3 separate regions of the Homo sapiens genome follow, and regions 1 and 2 are each linked to region 3. Evidence: promoter capture Hi-C in 16 types of primary human blood cells and fetal thymus (Javierre and others, 2016). All regions are on one chromosome and are shown on one strand. Each heading gives the region's core, a stretch centred on a gene start or on the middle of the fragment in contact. The rest is flanking DNA. Distances are from core to core; before and after follow the strand shown.

The links. Contacts are between HindIII fragments. The CHiCAGO score rates a contact against its expected background, and 5 or more counts as called.
Region 1: a contact is called between a fragment that was not itself captured here and the fragment with the promoter of NCBP3 in region 3, in 1 of 17 cell types (naive B cells). The highest score is 5.2, in naive B cells.
Region 2: a contact is called between a fragment that was not itself captured here and the fragment with the promoter of NCBP3 in region 3, in 3 of 17 cell types (megakaryocytes, naive B cells and erythroblasts). The highest score is 6.0, in megakaryocytes.

The regions. Positions count from the first base shown.
Region 1 is chr17:4,045,868-4,048,629 of GRCh38, forward strand. All of the region lies in intron 37 of ZZEF1 (zinc finger ZZ-type and EF-hand domain containing 1), which reads right to left. Among named protein-coding and RNA genes, the nearest start is that of LINC01975, 70 kb to the left of the region's middle. The HindIII fragment of the contact is 6,904 bases long and covers 1-2,762 here.
Region 2 is chr17:4,095,790-4,098,584 of GRCh38, forward strand. It overlaps ZZEF1 (zinc finger ZZ-type and EF-hand domain containing 1), which reads right to left. Exons shown (of 55, transcript NM_015113.4): 10 at 820-911; 11 at 42-190. Among named protein-coding and RNA genes, the nearest start is that of ZZEF1, 46 kb to the right of the region's middle. The HindIII fragment of the contact is 2,756 bases long and covers 72-2,795 here.
Region 3 is chr17:3,844,635-3,847,578 of GRCh38, forward strand. NCBP3 (nuclear cap binding subunit 3) reads right to left here and starts at 1,612. Exons shown (of 13, transcript NM_001114118.3): 1 at 1,407-1,612. The coding sequence starts at 1,589. RefSeq lists silencers at 1,311-1,600, 1,781-1,900. The HindIII fragment of the contact is 12,990 bases long and covers 1-2,944 here.

The sequences.
Region 1 (2,762 bases), core at 130-2,629, 200 kb after region 3:
CCCAGGCTGGAGTGCAGGGGCGCCATCTCGGCTCACTGCAAGCTCCGCCTCCCAGGTTCAAGTGATTCTCCTGCCTCAGCCTCACGAGTAGCTGGGACTACAGGTGTCCGCCACCACACCCAGCTAATTTTTTGTATTTTTAGTAGAGATGAGGTTTCACTGTGTTAGCCAGGATGGTCTTGATCTCCTGACCTTGCGATCCACCCATCTTGGCCTCCCAAAGTACTGGGATTACAGGCATGAGCCACCACGCCCGGCCTCTTTATTTTAAAAAACAGAATAAACATACCTTTGATGCCCTTTTGAGAATCCCACTTTGGCAATGAGACTTGTTAAAGGGGCCCTTTCTGGAGGTGGGAGACTTTTCTAGAATCAGGAGTCTAGTGGTGAGCTGCCCAGATGGGCAAGGTGACAGCTGTCAGCTGCATTTCCTGAGAAGTCACTCAGAATCCCCCCAGTGACTGTTTGCACTCCTGGGACCCTCAGGGTGCCTTTCCCTATTGTCACACAGGCTTATGTGTGGAACTGTGGCTACATGGGAAGTGTTATGTGCATGGTGGAGGCACCCCAGCTTCAGGTCTGAGAAGGCCAAACGTTGACTTTCACTCTTTGGGGCCAAAGGTGGAGTGTGATTCAACACCAAACATTCAGGAGGTGACATGCCGTCTCCCAGGGGTACCTAACTCAGCCTCCCCTCTGCATATGTAACCTCAATATCAATCCTACCTTCAACCTCTTTCTGAGAAAAATGTGACTGTAAGACTGTCCTAAGAGAGGAATGAAACTGGGAGAGCTACTTGCTTTGTTAAATGTACCCTCTGAAAAGACCCGACACCATACTCCCTGTACCATATGGCACTTGCGAAGACAATATAATTCCCAAGTTATGGCAAATGACTTATCTTTTTTCCTGTTATCACAGGACACTGTAAACAGAATCTTCTGGATGATGCCTCTGGCTAAGGTTAGTTTCTCAGTTGTTGAAAACAAAAAGTATCTCTAGTCATTGGACGGAGAAAAGGTAGATACCCTTACCAGGGCCCTGGGGTTGCTTAGAAGCACGTGAGAGTTGAAAAACAGTGATCTGTCCTAGGGGCCCCAATGGGATACAGTCCTTATGGCCACTGTAGTGGCAACACTCAGGTTCAGTTGTGGGGACAGTGCTGGAAATTGCTTGCAGCTTTACTTGAAGACTAAGAGGAAGAGCCAGAGGCAGGATACCCTGGGCGCACCCGGCTGCTGGTGGGTGGGAAGGGGACTCAAAAGGTGGGAATGGCTCAAGAATAAAAACAGTGCCCTGGGACCTCTTTGGAAAAAGTCCCATTTCAATCCTGAAGCAGGGAAGGCCTAAAACAAGCCTGAAACATCTTTCTCTATCAAAAATTAAGGAACTGTTCAAAAAATAATGGCAACATATCAAAAGAACACAAAAGCCAGGGAGGAGCAGTTTCCACTGCCCAAACATGGGACAATTTGAGCATCAAAATAAATAATGGGTCAGGCACAGTGGCTCAGGCCTGTAATCCTAGCACTTTGGGTGACTGAGACAGATGGATTGCTTGAGTCCAGGAGTTCGAGACCAACCGGGTAACATGGCAAAACCCCATCCCTACAAAAACTACAAAAATTAGCTGGCATGGTGGCATACACCTGAAGTCCCAGTTACTTGAGAGGCTGAGGTGGGAGGATCGTTGGAGCCCAGGAGGTGGAGGTTGCAGTGAGCCAAGATCATACCACTGCACTCCAGCCTGGGCAACAGAGTGAGACCCTGTCTCAAAAAAAATAAGAAAAGTGGCCGGGCGCAGTGGCTCACGCCTGTAATCCCAGCACTTTGGGAGGCCGAGGCAGGCAGATCACGAGGTCAGAAGATCGAGACCAACCTGGCTAACATGGTGAAACCCGTCTCTACTAAAAATACAAAAAATTAGCTGGGCGTGGTGGTGGGCGCCTGTAGTCCCAGTTACTTGAGAGGCTGAGGTAGGAGGATCATTGGAGCCCAGGAGGTGGAGGTTGCAGTGAGCCAAGATCATACCACTGCACTCCAGCCTGGGCAACAGAGTGAGACCCTGTCTCAAAAAAAATAAGAAAAGTAATAGATTTTTATCCATTGAATTAAAAAAAACCCATAAAAAAACCCTATTAAGTCCATTCTGACATAAATAAAAGGATAAACGGGGAAGCACAGTGCTTATGGGTGGAAGGTTAGTTTTAAGATGCTGAGGGCTCACAAGAAGATACAAATATTCCCAGGCTCAAAGGTGAGGACTACTGATTAATCCCATTTCTCCTAACAATGTTCTCTTTGTTCCCATCATAATCCGTGGGTGGTTAAAGTGCCGCCTACAGAAGACGTTTCATGGAAAAAATGTGGACGGTTGAGAGACAGGCTTGATGATTATGTGGCCTGTCTTCTACTGACTCTCTGGCTGAATGGAAATAATAAAAATGTTGATGTTTCTGCTGGCCAGTTTTGCTTTTGTATTCCTCCACATGAGAATGGGACCTTGGTGAGCTACAACCACCAGATGGGGGAATCCTTGAACTAGCAACCTGACAGACAGAGGACAGCAACATCAGCGACCCCTGTGGCAGTCAAGGGCCTTTTCAGCAGAAACACAAGCTCTGGAGGCAGCATCATAGAAACAATGGCGTGCTCTTCCATAAAACAATCTTTAGTGCCACTATCACAGGTTATACCTGGATCCAGAATAGCTTTTCTGTTTATGCAACTATGTGTAAATTACTGCGTCTACCCGGTAAAC
Region 2 (2,795 bases), core at 200-2,699, 250 kb after region 3:
TCTGTAGATCTTTGTTCTACAAAGATTTTTTACCTTCTTACCTGCTTTTTACAAATTGCCTGAGCTCCTGAAGCTTCCATTTGTCATATTTTTCAAACCTTTTGAAGTGTTCTTCCGCACAAAATTTATCTGAAGATGAGTTATAGGCAAACACCAACCCACACTGGGCACCAATGCCACCACGTCGAACCTGGAAACAGAGATTAGGATGAAGTCTATCAAAGGGGCAAAAGTTCTGTGGCCGTTTTGTTTCCAGCATGGTTAAATTCAAACAGGTTAAAACAAAACGAGACCAATGAAAAATATTTCAAACATATTAAGCCCTCAAAAAATAAGAAAGCTGTTTCCCAAGAAATGTTCCTTAACTTTCTCAATCCTTATATTCTCACCATTTCAAAGACTTTACAGTCTATCCATCTTTGTGTCCCTGCCCTCTGCTACAGGCCTGACACAGAGTAAATCATCATTAAATGTTCAATGAATAACCAATGACATGGTCAGCCATAGGTCTGACTTTAAAAAAAAAAACCAAAACACCAATGACGTGGACTTCTGAAATGTAATAAAAGGTAATATTCAATAATAACCTAATTGTACATGGAAAAGTAACTACAACAGTGTAATGGATTGTTTATAACACAAAGACTAAATGCCTGAGGGGATGAATAGCTCATCCTCATCCTCTGTATGATTATTTCACATTGCATGCCTGTATCAAAACACCTCATGTACCCCACAAATATATATACCTACTATGTACCCATAAAAATTGAAAACAAAAGTAGTAACATTGCTTAAAGAAGGTAGCACGAAAATTACCATAATTCTTATCTGTGTAACTTGGAAGGCAGATTCAGTTCCGGTAGAAAAAATAGTGCTGGCTCTGGTTTTTCCAGTTTCCGTAAGAAAACCTGAAAAAAGGGAAAACTCAAGTTAGGGAACTAACCCATTTTTATAGCCCTAAGAACTAAGATCAACAAAAACAAACCATATCCTTTGAGTCATGGGGGGTAACTGGTCTGATATCTTCACGAAAATTAGAGAAAAATGTCCTCTTTGGACAGAGGCAACCCCGATGATAAAGCCCCAGGTAAGCAGAGAACTGACCAGGTTCAACTTTCCCAGGGCACAATCCCCTCCACCTCACAGGCAGCCCTGCTCTGAGGTAACAATAAGAAAATAAATGTTTAGGCCGGGCACAGTGGCTCACGTCTGTAATCCCAGCACTTTGGGAGGCCGAGGCGGGTGGATCACGAGATCAGGAGACGGAGACCATCCTGGCTAACACGGAGAAACCCCGTCTCTACTAAAAATACAAAAAATTATCCAGGTGTGGTGGCGGGCGCCTGTAGTCCCACCTACTCGGGAGGCTGAGACAGGAGAATGGCGTGAACCCGGGAGGCGGAGCTTGGAGATTGTGCCACTGCACTCCAGCCTGGGCAACAGAGTGAAACTCCGTCTCAAAAAAAAAAAAGAAAAAGAAAAAGAAAAAGAAAAGAAATGTTTATAAAACATTTAAGCCAAAGCGACAAAAGACTGGACAATCAATCATCTTCCTGAGCCACACCTACAACCATGGCTGATGGCTGCCTGGGCTGATAAAGCCTACTGGCTTAGTGGCTGAGAAAGGGATTAGTTAGCTTCTACAACACTTTGTCAGGAAAGGTTATGAAAGGCTTTGAAATGGGAAAAAAAAAAAAAAAAAAAAAAAAGAATCACTGGGTGTCCTAGCCAACATACCCTTTCGGTCGTCTCTGCCTTTTATGGTCTCTAAACTATTTTACAATTCTGTAAGTTGTAGAACACTGGTAGTGATGCACATGATTCTTGTCCACAGAACTAAACACTGTGTTCTGTGGAAATGTTGCTGATTATTCCTTATGGATACTGACCAACATTCTATCTATTTGTAAATTAATTTTAGCATTCTTGTTAGTCTACATGTATTTTATGAATTCTCCTTAGAACTGTTTGTAACATCTTACTGGTTCCCTCATTAATTAATGAGCTAAATAAAAAGTCTGGGCCAGGCACAGTAGCTCATGCCTGTAATCCCAGCACTTTGGGAGGCTGAGGCCAGTGGATCACTTGAGCCTCAAAACCAGCCTGGGCAGCACAGTGAGACCCCATTTCTACCAAAAAAAAAAAAAAAAAAAGCAAAAATCAAGGTGGGTGTGGTGGCTCACACCTATAATCCCAGCACTTTGGGAGGCTGAGGCAGGCAGTTCACTTAAGGTCAGGAGTTCGAGACGAGCCTGGCCAACATGGTGAAAACCCCATCTTTACTAAAAACACAAAATTCGCCGGGCGTGGTGGCACACACCTGTAATCCCAGCTACTCAGGAGGATGAGACAGGAGAATCGCTTGAACCCGGGAGGCGGAGGATGCAGTAAGCTGAGATCTCACCATTGCACTCCAGCCGGCCTGGGTGACAGAGTGAGACTCCAACTCAAAAAAAAAAAAAAAAAAAAATCAGCTGGGCACGGTGGTGCACACCTGCAATCCTAGCTACTTGGGAGGCCAGGGTGGGAGGATCGCTTGAGCCTGGGAGGTGGAGGTTGCAGTGAGCTATCATCACAACACTTCACTCCAGTCTGGGCAGTAGAGTGAGACCCTGTCTCAAATGAATGAATGAATGAATAAATAAATTAAAGTAAATAAATTAAAAGTATGAATGTGTTCACTTATATTTGTATGACAGTCACTATTTTCCTTTTTTGATTGTTGGTAATTATCCTTTAACAACTCATGAAAAAGTCTTCTGCTAGACCCAAGGTTGCCTTTCTCTTTCAAA
Region 3 (2,944 bases), core at 362-2,861:
GAGGTCAGGTGTTCGAGACCAGCCTGGCCAACATGGAGAAACCCCGTCTCTACTAAAAATACAAAATTAGCCGGGCACGGTGGCACATCCCTGTAATCTCAACTACTTGGGAGGCTGAGGCAGAAGAGTAGCTTGAACCCAGGAGGCGGAGGTTGCGGTGAGCCAAGATCAGGCCATTGTACTTGGCTACTCAGGAGGCTGAGGCAGGAGAATGGCTTGAACCCGGGAGGCGGAAGTTGCGGTGAGCCGAGATCGCGCCATTGCGTTCCAGCCTGGGCAACAAGAGCGAACTCCGTCTCAAAACAAAACAAAACAAAAACCATGTTGAACTGAATGACTAAAGGGATGATAACACCTGCTTCACAACTGCAGTAATATTTATTTATTTTGGTTTTGTTTTTGAGATGGGGAGAGGGGAAAGGGGGGACCTCAAAGGGGTCTTGCTATATTGCTGAGGCTGGTCTGGAACTTAGACTCCTGAATAGCTGGCACTAAAGGCGTGCACGGCCAGTATATTTAAGTGACACAATATAGTGAATGGTAAATGCTACTATATTAGCTGTTGTTAATCATAATTATAACGTTTGCCATCTCTAGCGATCATACTTTAACCTTTCTCCATAACTTCAGTCTAAATATGTTGACATGTGGTCAAAAGTAATTCATGTTAGGTGAGAAATTAAGAGGAGTCATCCAGGCCTGAAACCAGCTCTGAGAACTGGATATACAGCCACCAAGTCACAAGCAAAACACCTCTCACCATCCCCAGCGCGGTAAAGGAGGGACCAAGGATGTCTATTGGTCGTCTGCTAGTTTGCTTTCATTAAGAGTCAGATGCTGGGGCCACGGTGTAGGTGTCACTGGAGCTGCGGGGGGGGCAAGATGACCCCGAAGTCACGACAGAAACAGTGAGTTTCTGCTGCTGACAAGTGCAGCCCTCTCAAGACAAAGAGCGAGTGCCATGTTTCCCAGATACAAATTCCTCCGGGGCAAGACCCACAAGGAGACCTGGTTGCTGGCGCCACCCAACAGCTCCTTCTGGGCTGCCCCTGGTTCTGTTCCCGCCCAGGGCTCCCCCTTTATCTCATCCTTCCAGCCCCTCCTCACTCACCTCCTTGCACAGCGCGGCTCAGAGGGGGCAGCGGAGGGGGGTCCTCAACTCCCTCCCAGCTCTCCGCCACCACCCCCCAGCCCCCTCAACACCCATTTCCGGCGCCCCGGCGTCCTTTCTCCCGCTCCGCGTCCCTCCTCCAGCCCGGCGTTCCCGTTCCCAGGACGCTGGCTCCCTCCTCTCCCGCTCCCTTGACTTCCCCGGCTGGGGCTCCGGCCACCGCCCCTTCCGGCCCCCTCCGGCGCTAGACACTAGCCCCGCGACCTCTTCCTTACCCCCCGACCCCCGCCCGTACCGGGATCAGTTCCTTGAGCGAGCGCCGCACAGGCACGATTTCCAGCTCGCCCTCCTCCACCTCCATGGGCTCCGGCTCGCCACGGTCAACACCGGACTCCGCCTCAGGGGACGGGAGCCCCAGGGCCGGCCCCGCCGGGGCCTCCGCCTTCACCGACACCCGCAGGCCCCGTACGGCCGCCATCGCTGCCTGCCGGCCGCACCACTGAGAGCCCGCCCCTCACGGCCGCCGGCTAGAGCGCCGCTGCCACTGGCCACAGAGGAGCCGCCGCAGCTACCTAGAGCGTCGCCGGCTTCGGCCCAGAAGGCCGCCCTTAGCGCCGCCGCCCCCTGGTGGCGGGAGAAAACCGGGCCGGCTGCGCGGGCGGGACCTGGGGAGGAGAAGGCGGGACTGAGCGGGGACGGGGGCGGGGCCTGCGGGAACTACGGAGCTTGGAGGAGACCGGGGTAGTCAAGGGTTACAATGTAGCTACGCCTTGAGGCTAAAGCTGTACTAAAAGCCAACTTTCCTGAGTGATCACTATGGGCCAGACACTTCCAAGCGCTCGAACCCTTAGAACAACTCTATGAAGTAGATCCTATTTTGACCCCCATTTCATATATGAGGAAACTGAGGCATAGAAATTGACCCAAGGTGACGCCATTTAAGGGATAAAAGCTGGATCTAAGTCTTCCAGAGTTTACAATGAGCCTTGATATATCACCTCTGGACAATCTGTAGGTTTATAAAGTTACTTGCCTTGCCAGTCTTTGTCTCTTAAAAGTCTCCCCAAAATTGGCCCATGTTACATACACAAAAATTGAGACTCCAAGAGGGAGAGACCTGCCCAAAGGCCAGAACTTGGACGCCGATTTCCTGACTCCTGAGGGTGCCATCCACTGTAGACCTGTGAGCATAGTTTCCGGCGGATATTTCTAACGAGAGCCTGGTGGGGGAGAGGGGTTGTCTACGCGTCCCGAGGGTGTCACTGATCAGCTGCTGTTCTGAGTCCTGATTTTCTTTTTCTTTCTTTCTTTCTTTCTTTATTCCTTTCTTCCTTCCTTTCTTTCTTCTTTTCTTTCTTTCTCTTTTCCTTCCTTCCTCCCTCTCCTCTTTCTTTCTTTCTTTCTTTTTTTTTTTTTTTTTTGTAGAGACAGGGTTTCACCATGTTGACTAAGCTGGTCTCGAATTCCTAACCTCAAGCGATCCACCCGCCTCGGCCTCCCAAAGTCTTGGGATTACAGGCATGAGCCACCGCGCCCGGCCTGAGTCCTGATTTTGCATCTTCCTCCCTGGGTAACCTTGGACAGGTTTTTGGGTCTGTTTTCCCATCTGAGGAGGGCATAGGTGAGACCCTACAGTCTCTGAGGCCCTGAGGCCCTACCAGCTCTGACCATGGAGGAGCAAATAATGATAAACCAAGGAAGAGCATGGTCAGCATCAGACACACCTGGGTTTCGAGCTGGCTGGCCGGGCCCCATCCACCATGTGTGACCTTAGGCAAGCTGCTTAGCACTTTGGAGTCTCAGTTCCTTCATCAGTAAAATGGACCATTACCT